3 separate regions of the Homo sapiens genome follow, and regions 2 and 3 are each linked to region 1. The links are contacts of gene promoters, found by promoter capture Hi-C in human tissues and cell types (Jung and others, 2019). All regions are on one chromosome and are shown on one strand. Each heading gives the region's core, a stretch centred on a gene start or on the middle of the fragment in contact. The rest is flanking DNA. Distances are from core to core; before and after follow the strand shown. Region 1 holds the start of P4HTM (prolyl 4-hydroxylase, transmembrane). Region 2 overlaps DAG1 (dystroglycan 1). Region 3 overlaps ATRIP (ATR interacting protein).

Region 1 (4,022 bases), core at 513-3,012:
CATGCATATGACATCATTCTGACAGGTCTAGGCATAATCCCCAACCAGGACCCTCTGCCTTGGAGGTAATGACTTGTGCTCAGATGTTCTACTTTGGCCCCAGCTCCTAACCCATTCCATCCCCCGGCAGGCAGGAATGGCCCTGGGTTTGCAAATATGTTTGTCACGGAGGCCAGGTACCCAGGGCTGGGCTACACAAACACCCTGGACAATGTCCATGGGACTAGGGGTCCCCACCCAGTTGACACTGGTGGTCTTTGAAGGACTCTGGGGTCTTCACAGCTCGCACTGTGGCTTTACTGCATAGGCCTTAGAGGCAGGCTATGTGGGTTCTAATCCTAGCTTCACCACTGAAGTAACCGTGTCAGCCTGGCCAAGCCACAGCAGCTCTCTGTCCCTAACTTTCCCCCTCACTGGCCTGAGTAGGATCTACACCCACTTCACAGAGGGGTTGCAGGAATTAAATGAAATAATCATATGAAGGCAAGCACATAACTAGAGCTCAGAAACGATGAGCTATGTTGTGGCTCCAACTGGAGTCACCCTAGAAAGCTTTGCCCATGATGGCTGAACAAAGACTTCACCTTAAGAAGAATCTCAGAGTGCTGGCAGCAAAAGCTGAGCCTCTGACTGGTACTCCAGTGGAGGAGGCTGGGGGGGTACCAGTTTATCTACATTTGGACGGCCTGCTTCTCATCAGACCACAAGGCCCACTTCGGCAGTGGGATTTTCCCCAGAGGTCCTGAGGTCGGCAGAAAGCTGGTTATCAGTCTCCCACCTTCCTCCCAGTTCTAGAAGGTGACAGAATTAATGGTGGCACGGAAGACAGGTGCAATGAAACGTTTAGACACCAGCCTCAGGCTCACCCTGCCAGCCCTGTGATGGAAGAATGGACTGCAGGGAGTTGGGATAAGAGGGAGTGTTACCCTATTTCGAGGACGGGGAAGGTCCTTCACTTTGGTAATCCTCTGGAAGGGCTGCTCTGAAGCAGCCATTTTCAAAATAGAGGTCACGTGGTCACAACGAGCCTCAAGGTGGCCACCAAACCGCAGCCCCTGGCCCTTCCCAGGAGTATCTGGCGGACTTACCGAAGAGCAGCGGCTTGAGGCTGAGGGTTCGGATGAAGTGATCCCTGTCGGTGACCAGCTGGACCTTACGCTCGTGCCCCACCTAAGGAAAAGGCGCACAGCGGGCAGCTGGGGCGCCAGACCGCGCTGCCCAAGAAGGGCCAAGTCGCCCCGGCCCGGAGAGCGACAGCAGGCGAGTGAGTGGGAGCGCGCGGGACCGACGCAGAGCAGCGCCGGGGGCAGCGTGGGGACCCGGGCTGAGCGCCGGTCCTCTCGGGCTCAGCCGTGCAGGGCCTGGAGCGCGGCGGGGCAGGGAGGTCCTCACCTTGATGCCCTCCAGCCGGGTGAGGGGACCTAAGGTGGGCTCGGGCCCGGGGCCCTGGGCACGGTGTTGGGGCCCGGGATCGCTGCTTTCGTCGCCGTTGCTGTAGTGCACGAAGAGCAGCAGCGCCAGCACGTTACCCAGGTACAGGTGCACGAACACCATCAGCACCAGGAAGTAGGCGCGCGAGCAGATGCCGCGGGGCTTGCACAGCGGACGCACCGGTGCGTCCTCGCCGTCGCCCAGCCCGGCCGCCGCCTGAGCCTGGCAGTGGTCTGGCGGCGCCCACTGCGGCCTCGAGGCCTCCTCGGCCGCCGCGGTCTCAGGCCGCTGGCCTGTCACCGCCGCTGCCGCCATGGCACCCAGGTCGCGCGCGCGCCCAGGGGAGGGGCCGCGGGGGTGCCCGCGCTGCGCAGTCGCCCGGACAACGGCCGCCAGGCCCGCGAGCGCCGCGGTCACTAGGAGACGGTGCCTGGGGGTGCTGAGCCCGCCCGGAGCCGCCTGCGTCCGCGCCGGGCTCGGCCTTCCTGCGCCTTGAGCCCCAGCCCACGCTGGGGCTTCTCTTCCCAAGCTGGGTTGCCGTCGGGCAGAGCTGTACACTCTCCAAGTCAGAAGCCAAGGTCCCAAGCGTAGACGCGGACAAGAGCGGCACCATTAAGGCATACACTAGTGGGAGCTTCTCGGTGCCTGCGTGAAGACGCCCTCTTGCCTCCGGGAAAAGTATCGTCTGCATCTTCTTGCTCCAGGAGCGGGGGTGGGGAGCGCAGCGCGGAGGAGGCAGCGCTGAGATGACTCAACAGTGCGGCATTTGGGGGCGCCGCGGAGGCTGGGACTGCGTAAGCGGCGATAGGGTAGGACCCACAGCCTCCTCGCAGGCATTCTTGGAGCTCGGTTCCGCGGTCGGTCCGGATCTCCCGGGAAGTCTCGCCGGAGTCAGGCAGGCCTTAGGAAGAAGCTGCCTGATGTGCAAGGTTTCATAGGCCGTCAGAGGGGGCATCCTGGAGGAGCCCTGGCATCAGGAAAGTGAGCCCCCCATGGCAGCCCGCAGGAATGAACCAGTGCTCAGGTATATGGAACACTCCTTGCATCAAAGCTGGCACGTGTGAAGAGGCGGGAAGGGACTCTTCCATAACTGAGACACCATTACCTCAGAGAAAAATTAAACAGATTATCACCAAAAACGGGGGTGGGGGGAGGACATACCTACCAGTGGTCAAGTGCCAAGGCATCCCTGCTCTTCTAGAGCTGGTTATCCTCAGGAAGAGATTACTACACGCCCTCAGGGCAGAAGCTGACCCCCCTCCCCGAGGTGGACTTGCAGGCAAGAGCAACACTTTTAAGGCAGGTCACACTGGTGGTTTCTCCCTACCCTGGTTAAGACCCCCACTACCTCTACTCCCATCTCCTCTCCCTTCCCCATAGCAAAGCATAGTCTGCATTTTCTAGTCCCCTCAAGTCAAGGCAGGCCAGGGGCTCCAAGGGCAGGCCCACCTCTTTCTTCTAAGATTTTTTGTGTGTGTGTGACGGAGTCTCACTCTGTCGCCCAGGCTGGAGTGCAGTGGCGCGATCTTGGCTCACTGCAACCTCTGCCTTCCGGGTTCAAGCAATTCTCCTGCCTCAGCCTACCAAGTAGCTGGCATGCGCCACCATGGCGGGCCAATTTTTTTTTTTGTATTTTTATTTATTATTATTTAGTTTTAATTTTTTAATTATAATTTTTTTTTTTTTTTTGATACAGAGTCTCGCTCTGTCGCCAGGCTGGAGTACAGTGGTGTGATCTCAGCTCACCGAAAGCTCCGCCTCCCGGGTTCAAGCAATTCTCCTGTCTCAGCCTCCCAAGTAGCTGGGACTACAGGTGCCCGCCACAATGCCCGGCTAATTTTTATATTTTTAGTAGAGACAGGGTTTCACCATGTTGGCCAGGCTGGTCTCAAACTCGTGACCTCAGGTGTTCCACCCACCTTGGCCTCCCAAAGTGCTGGAATTACAGACATAAGGCACCACACCCAGACCAAATCTCCTAAATTCTTAAATATAATAAACCAACCAACAGAACCATAATTTTACCAAGGATCTCATGGCTTTCTCATACCTTTTCTGGAATGAAGTTGAGACTATTTCCCTCTAGCCTTTTTTTTTTTTCCCCGAGACAGAGTCTTGCTCTGTCACCCAGGCTGGAGTGCAGTGGCTTCATCTCGGCTCACTGCAACCTCTGCCTCCCGGGTTCAAGCAATTCTCCTGCCTCAGCCTCCCAAGTAGCTGGGATTACAGGCACGTGCCACCACGCCCAGCTAATTTTTATATTTTTAATAAAGATGGGGTTTCACCATGTTGGCCAAGCTGGTCTCAAACTCCTGACCTCGTGATCCGCCCGCCTTGGCCTCCCAAAGTGCTGGGATTACAGGCATGAGCCACCGCGACCGGCCCCTCTAGCCTTTTAAAAACTAGAATTTGATCACCATAAAATCTGTACTTTGCTTAACCTATTTTCCTGAACTCCATTCTTACACCTATTACCTGAACTAGGCCTACCACTAAGCACAGGTACTGATAGCTCATTGCCAGACAACAGAAAGCAAGCAGGTTGCAGGGCTGCTCCACCTGCTGTCAGCTGTGGGAATTTCACAACCACA
Region 2 (4,022 bases), core at 671-3,170, 540 kb before region 1:
ACTAGGGCTATGAGATGGGCTAACTTGGGAGGCAAATATCTCACCCAAGGCCACACAGTGGGGAGACAGCAGTGCTGGCACTCAAGCACATGTCTCATTCCCAAGAACTGATGCCATGGAGCTCACGACTGTTGTGGATTTTATAACAGTGACACGCCCTGCCACCTACTTGCCCATTCTACCTGAAGAATCAAGTCACATTCCAGCCCTCAGCATTCCTTTCCACCCTTGCCTCAGACTTCTCCCCGGCCCTCTGCAGACACCACATCTTTGCTCAGGTCACATGCCTGGCCTGGAGGACCATTCCTGCCCCAAAGTGGAGATGCACACAGGTCTGGGTACAAGGGAAGGCTCAACGCTCTGAAGGACTCACATTACAACATCACGTTACATTCAAGTGTAGTGGGGCACATTTGTGTAGCAAAGAGAGTTAGTTGTATCTAATGTTTTCATTTACCCTGCTTCTCAAATCTCAAGACAAACTGTGGTACCCAGGGAGCAGAGACTAGAATCAACTATTCTAGAATAGTGCTTACTAAAGGAATCCCAAGGAGCTCTGGTCTCTCTAAAAGAGAGAGGTTCTACAGTCAATCAAGTACAGGAAATACACAGAGACCTCTTCTGCCCTTGGAGAGACCAGGCACAGAAGCAGGCCTAAGGAGCTCATCACCTTATTCCAACTCAACAGCATCTCCCAGACTTCTTTTGTTGTGGAAGTCCCTTTCCACAGAGATATAACTGGTCATACTCAGAGCACCCAAGGAAATGCCACCATAGAAACCTCCACCAACAGCTGACAAGAGGAAAATATGACTTAGCTCTTGCCCCAGCCCCATCTGTGGCTCCTTTCACTTTTGGGAAACACCTACTCCTGCCCCAATGCAAGAAAAGTGACACCCCCCATTCTCTGGTTGGCCTGAAGGCACTCTCATCTCCATTGTCCTATAACAAGTACCAGAGACAAATTGGCCAAAACACAGTACATCACACTCCCAGACTCAGCTTAGGACTGCCCTTCATGACCACTGCTTATCAATAGGGGGACCCTAAAATGCTTCCCCCTCCCTGTGGCAGGAAAGCTAAAGCCACTGACTGCTGGATTCCCCAGTGCCTCTGGTTCCCTGGGCTTCCTCCTGCCAAAAAACAAAGTACTTGAGTGATTTGGAAAGGAGACCCCAGGCTTGTACCCAGGTGTCCAGGCAGCAGCCTTATCAGAAACTAGATAATTTCCCCCCTTTAAACTAATTTAAACAGGTTTCCTACACCCAGCAAAAATGTATGAGAAAGCTGGGCATGGTAGCTCATACCTATAATCCCAGTACTTTGGGAGGCCAAGGCGGGAGGATTGCTTGAGGCCAGCAGGCATTAGAGACCACCCTGGCCAACACAGTGAGACCCCCATCTCTATTTCAAAAAAAAAATTTTTTTTAACCATGAGATTACTGACATTGTTAGGAATTATTATTATTGGGCCAGGCATGGTGGCTCACCCCTGTAATCCCAGCACTTTGGGAGGCCAAGGTGGGCAGATCACCTGAGGTCAGGAGTTCGAGACCAGCCTGGCCAACACGGCGAAACCCCATCTCTACTAAAAGTACAAAAATTAGTCGGATGTGGTGGCAGGCACCTGTAGTCCCAGCTACTCAGGAGGCTAAGGCATAAGAATTGCTTGAACCTGGGAAGCGGAGGTTGCAGTGAACTGAGATCACGCCACTGCAACCCAGCCTGGGTGACAGAGTGAGACTCCATCTCAGAAAAAAAAAAAAAAAAGGCGTTATTATTATCAGGGTTATCATTTCCTAATTGCTCTCTGAGCCACTCATTAAGGGTTAGCAAATAGTGTTTCTTTTGTGATACCACATTGCATCAACTCTAAGATGTGCCATCATCTAATTAAGAATCTCCCACCCTGTCACTCACCATCAAACATCAGAAATGTTAAAACATCTGTAAACATGGGTGTCTTCAAATTCATGAAAAATGCTAAATATATTTTTCTTTAAAAATATTTTTTAACCATAAAAATCACACTTATTGGCTGGGCGTGGTGGCTCATGCCTGTAATCCCAGCACTTTGGGAGGTTGAGGCGGGTGGATCACTTGAAGTCAGGAGTTTGAGACCAGCCTGGCCAACATGGCAAAATCCCGTCTCTACTAAAAACACAAAAATTAGCCAGGCATGGTGGTGCACACCTGTAGTCCCAGCTAGTCGGGAGGCTGATGCACAAGAATGGCTTGAACCCAGGAGACAGAGGCTGCAGTGAGCGGAGACCACACCACTGCACTCCAGCCTGAATGACAGAGTGAGACTCTGTCCCAAAAAAAAAAAAAAAAAAAAAAAAAAATCACACTATTTCAAATGTTTTGGCTGAAAAATCTAAGCTTTACATTTTTCAGTTCATTTATATTAAATAAAACTGCCACATCCGTATATAAACACATAAAATAAAGGTTGAATGCTCTTGTTTTGCAAAAACAAACAAACAAAAAACCACCATGAAGCAAATAAGTAAGGCCCATGAGATGTTTTACAGGAGTGGGATAGAAGTAGGGGTCCTGAGAGGTGGAGAGTAGGTGAATTAGGGTGTGGACCCCGGTTTTTGGTCACCTGAGGGTTATTTCCTAACTCTACTCCATCCCAATGGCCACCAGTAGGACACGAGCTCACATGGCAGAGGGAGGATGAAGAAAGGTGACAGGGAAGGCCTGGAATAGAGGTCTGGGTAAAGCCAACTAAGGAGAAGCCAACTGCAGAGGAGACTGAACAAGGTTGAGAGGGACTAGAAGAAGGGAGCCAAATGGCTGGCTAGAACCATGGGACATTCCTGAGTGGCTAGGCGCTCCATCAGTGTTGATAAGTCAGCAACCTGTTGCCTCTCCAAGTCTGTCTTCAACTATACAAGGGCACTTTTTTTTTTTAGACAGCGTCTCACTCTATCACCCAGGCTGGAGTGCAGGGGCGTGATCTCGGCTCACTGCAAGCTCCGCCTCCCGGGATCACGCCATTCTCCTGCCTCAGCCTCCCAAGTAGCTGGGACTACAGGCGCCCGCCACCACGCCTGGCTAATTTTTCGTGTTTTGTTGGTTTTTTTTTTTTTTGAGACAGAGTCTCGCTCTTTCGCCCAGGCCGGACTGCAGTGGCGCTATCTCGGCTCACTGCAAGCTCCGCCTCCCGGGTTCATGCCATTCTCCTGCCTCATTCTCCTGTAGCTGGGACTACAGGCGCCCGCCACCGTGCCCGGCTAATTTTTTGTATTTTTAGTAGAGACGGGGTTTCACCGTGTTAGCCAAGATGGTCTCGATCTCCTGAGCTCGTGATCCGCCCGCCTTGGCCTCCCAAAGTGCTGGGATTACAGGCGTGAGCCACCGCGCCCGGCAATTTTTCGTATTTTTAGTAGAGACGGGGTTTCACTGTGTTAGCCAGGATGGTCTCAATCTCCCGACCTCGTGATCTGCCCACCTCGGCCTCCCAAAGTGCTGGGATTACAGGCATGAGCCACCGCACCCGGCCACAAGGGCACTTTTTAACAGAAAATAGAGAAGGGCCCTGCCTTCTCAAGGCTTCCCAGCCTGGCTCACTTCCTATTCTGCTGACCCCAACAGCCAAAGTTCTGCTATCAGGCAGTTCCTACAGAACAAACTCAGGCCATTCTATAGGAAGGCTCCCACAGCGAAGCCATCCTTGAAAGCCATACACTTATTTTAACTATGCCAAGTAACTTAAAAACATGTTAATATTATGTAACAAACAATAAACACTAAAGAAAACGTCAGGTTTCACCAAAGCAAGTTATAATGCTCAATTTCAAATTGGGAGATGGGAGATGAGAAATGAGCTTTATTTTGACTACTGAGAACAAATTCTTTCACAATTTATTTAATTTTATTTATTTATTTATTTTTTGAGACAGAGTCTCACTCTGTCACCTGGGCTGGAGTGCAGTGGCACGATCTCAGTTCACTGTAACCTCTGCTTCCTGGGTTCAAATGTTTCTCCAGCTTCAGCCTCCTGAGTAGCTGGG
Region 3 (2,914 bases), core at 140-2,639, 530 kb after region 1:
GGGAGACGACTGCTCCGCTGTGGCACACCAGGTGCTGAAGAATGCTAAGTGCAGTCACAGAGAAGCCTTCCAGGATGCACACTGAGTCCTCAGGGTTGGTCTCTACCCCAGAGCTCACGCAGGAGGAATGTGTCGGTGAGTCCCCAGGTGCTCCGCTTCTCTTAGCAGCTGCCAAGTCCTGCAGGGCCTGGCAGTGTAAGCCGATGAAGAACTGTACAAGGGGGAGGAAATGCACGGCTCCAGGAAGCTGGCAGAGTGGGAAGGCCCTTCTGCCTCCCTCTGCTGGGTCTCCATCACGTGAGCACTCATTCCGGGCAACCAGATTCAGTCCAGTGAATGCCAGGTTCTGTGCTTCTCTCAGGGCTGAGAGGGAAAATGACCCATCATAAGAACCTGTGGTCCTGAGGCCTGACATTCCAGCCAAGGTACTGGCAACAAACACAAAGAAAAATAGATTAAGTGTGGGATGGAGATAAGGTCAAGAGCCCCAAACAGCCTGCCTGCCAAATTCTCCAGGCTGCCTGCCCTTCCCACAGACTTCTCAGGCTGGCCAGGGCCAGAAAGGAATTTGCTTCCAGGAAGCTCCTTCCCAAACAAGCTTTCCAGGAGTCTTATGCTTACCTGCCAAACCCTGGTGGCTGCAGGGGGGTGCCAGCAGGAGACTCAGAACTACTACTCAGGAGGTGGCAAAGGCTTAGGGATGACCCTGGGATCAAAGGCTGCTTCAGGAGCAGGTTTATCAAAATGGAACCTGCAGAAGACAAGATGACTCTAGAAGGTTCTGACATGGGAGATCTTTTCGGTGGCTTTCAGAAGGAAACAGTAAGGATTCTTTGGATGCCAACTGTCCTCTAGGCTGCCACTAAGCCCCAGGAAGATGCCTGTGGGTGCGGAAGGCTCTGGGACATACCTGCCCTTGGCCCTTTCCACTTTATAAAGTCTTCTGCTTAAGCCACATACTTTGACTTCCCTGGACTCTCTGAAGGACTGCCCGGGGCACCGGTTCTCAGAGGCCTGGGCAATTCTTCTGCATATTACTCAGAGCCATGCAGGCCCCTGCAGGAGAAGCAGGGATTCTGGTACCTTGAGTGTTTGATCTCTGTCTCCAGCTGTCAACAAAGCTTTTCTGGGCCTCTTCTTGTTTTATGGAGTCACCTCTCAGACTGTGGGGCTTACTATCTGAAATGTGATAAAATGTAAATCAAAACTTGAGCCCAGAAGCATGGGCATATTAGAAACTTTTACATGCAATGAGTTTAAAACACACGCTGTTCTACTTCTTCGAACTTGGAACAAACAAGAGCCAAAGCGGCTCAAGAGCCCTGCATCTTTTACCTTCCTTATGTAAAACAGGAACTCATACAAGGAAAGGAAAAGAAAATCAAGCTGTTTGCCTCACTCAAAATGAGGCAATTAGATAAAACAGTGACCACTAACATTGACATGGTGCTTGTTACGTGCTAGACAGTGTTTTAAGAGCTCTATACGCATCAGCCCATTTGTTCCTCAGTGACCCTACAAGGATTTATCATTAGGTCTGTTTTACATATAGGGAAACTGAGGCACAGAGACTAAAGGACTTGCCCAAATCATATAAGCCAGTTAACAGCATTACTGGGACTCACATCCAGGCTACTGGGCTCTACTGCCTGCTTGTAACACTACTGTACACTGCCCCTTTAGCTGCTAGATGCCAAAAATGTAAGTGGGCTACAGTTTCTCAGAAGTGTTATGATGGCCAAGGATTTGAAAGGTTGATGGTAAGAAGAGGGTCAATGTATCCGATTTATAAGATACACTGACATAGCAGTCTGAAAACCTACTGATGTTAGATTGTCTCTCTCTAAAAAACAGCAGATCCCCTCAATCTGGACTGAGTTATAAAAACTCAAAAGCTGGACTACAAAAGGAAAACAGAGGCTGGGCACGGTGGCTCATGCCTGTAATCCCAGCATTTTGGGAGGCTGAAGTGGGTGGATCACGAGGTCATGAGATTGAGACCATCCAGGCCAACATGGTGAAACCTGTCTCTACTAAAAATACAAAAATTAGCTGGGTGTGGTGGCGCATGCCTGTAGTCCCAGCTACTCGGGAGGCTGAGGCAGGAGAATCGCTTGAACATGGGAGGCAGAGGTTACAGTGAGCCGAGATCACGCCACTGCACTCCAGCCTGGTGACAGAGTGAGACTCCGCCTCAAAGAAAAAAAAAAAAAACAAGAAAAGAAAAACAGATTCCTGCATACTAGCTAGGTTTTTGGCATGGTCAATTGATGCTGTGATGGTTTAAAAATATGCCCACAAGCATGATGGCAGGTGCCTGTAATCCCAGCTATTCGGGAGTCTGAGGCAGGAGAATCACTTGAACCCGGGAGGCGGAAGTTGCAGTGAGCTGAGATCGTGCCATTGCACTCCAGCCTGGGTGACAGGGTGAGACTCCGCCTCAAAAAAAAAAAAAAAAAGGCCCACAAATGCTTTGACACAACTCCCCTTCAAAAGGTATAAGCTTGGGAGGAGGGGGGAGGGATAGCATTAGGAGATATACCTAATGCTAAATGACGAGTTAATGGGTGCAACACACCAACATGGCACATGTATACATACGTAACACACCTGCACGTTGTGCACATGTACCCTAAAATTTAAAGTATAATAATAAAATAAAAATAAAAAATAAAAATTAAAAAAAAGGTATAAGCTTGGTTTCTCCCCTTGAATGACGCCCAGACTCAGTGATTTGCTTCTAACAAATACAATGTGGCAGAGGGGATGCTGTGTGACTTCTGAGGCTAGGCCATAAATGGATAGCTTCTGCCTGGCTCGCTCTCTCTGGATTTGCTAGCTTTAGAGGAAGCCACCCACCAGGTTAAGAGGATACCCCATATCCATGTGCAGAGGCCCATGTGGCAAGAAATTA

What was found. The method cuts DNA at HindIII sites, captures the fragments that hold promoters and counts their contacts. A contact is called where the count stands out against the background at its distance.
Region 2: a fragment that was not itself captured here is called in contact with the fragment with the promoter of P4HTM in region 1 in 1 of the 25 tissues and cell types used here (aorta).
Region 3: a contact is called between a fragment that was not itself captured here and the fragment with the promoter of P4HTM in region 1, in 1 of the 25 tissues and cell types used here (dorsolateral prefrontal cortex).

What each region holds. Positions count from the first base shown.
Region 1 is chr3:48,987,981-48,992,002 of GRCh38, reverse strand. It overlaps P4HTM (prolyl 4-hydroxylase, transmembrane), which reads right to left and starts at 1,762. Exons shown (of 9, transcript NM_177939.3): 1 at 1,393-1,762; 2 at 1,089-1,170. The coding sequence starts at 1,746. It overlaps LOC124909376 (a long non-coding RNA gene), which reads left to right and starts at 2,131. Exons shown (of 2, transcript XR_007095903.1): 1 at 2,131-2,455. RefSeq lists enhancers at 790-1,351, 2,009-2,168, 1,916-2,478, 2,479-3,042 and a silencer at 1,519-1,898. The HindIII fragment of the contact is 19,056 bases long and covers 1-4,022 here.
Region 2 is chr3:49,526,599-49,530,620 of GRCh38, reverse strand. All of the region lies in intron 2 of DAG1 (dystroglycan 1), which reads right to left. Among named protein-coding and RNA genes, the nearest start is that of BSN-DT, 26 kb to the left of the region's middle. The HindIII fragment of the contact is 3,693 bases long and covers 74-3,766 here.
Region 3 is chr3:48,457,624-48,460,537 of GRCh38, reverse strand. ATRIP (ATR interacting protein) reads right to left here. Exons shown (of 13, transcript NM_130384.3): 6 at 1,084-1,179; 7 at 622-751; 8 at 1-428. It overlaps ATRIP-TREX1 (ATRIP-TREX1 readthrough), which reads right to left. Exons shown (of 15, transcript NR_153405.1): 6 at 1,084-1,179; 7 at 622-751; 8 at 1-428. Among named protein-coding and RNA genes, the nearest start is that of TREX1, 7.1 kb to the left of the region's middle. The HindIII fragment of the contact is 6,156 bases long and covers 1-2,914 here.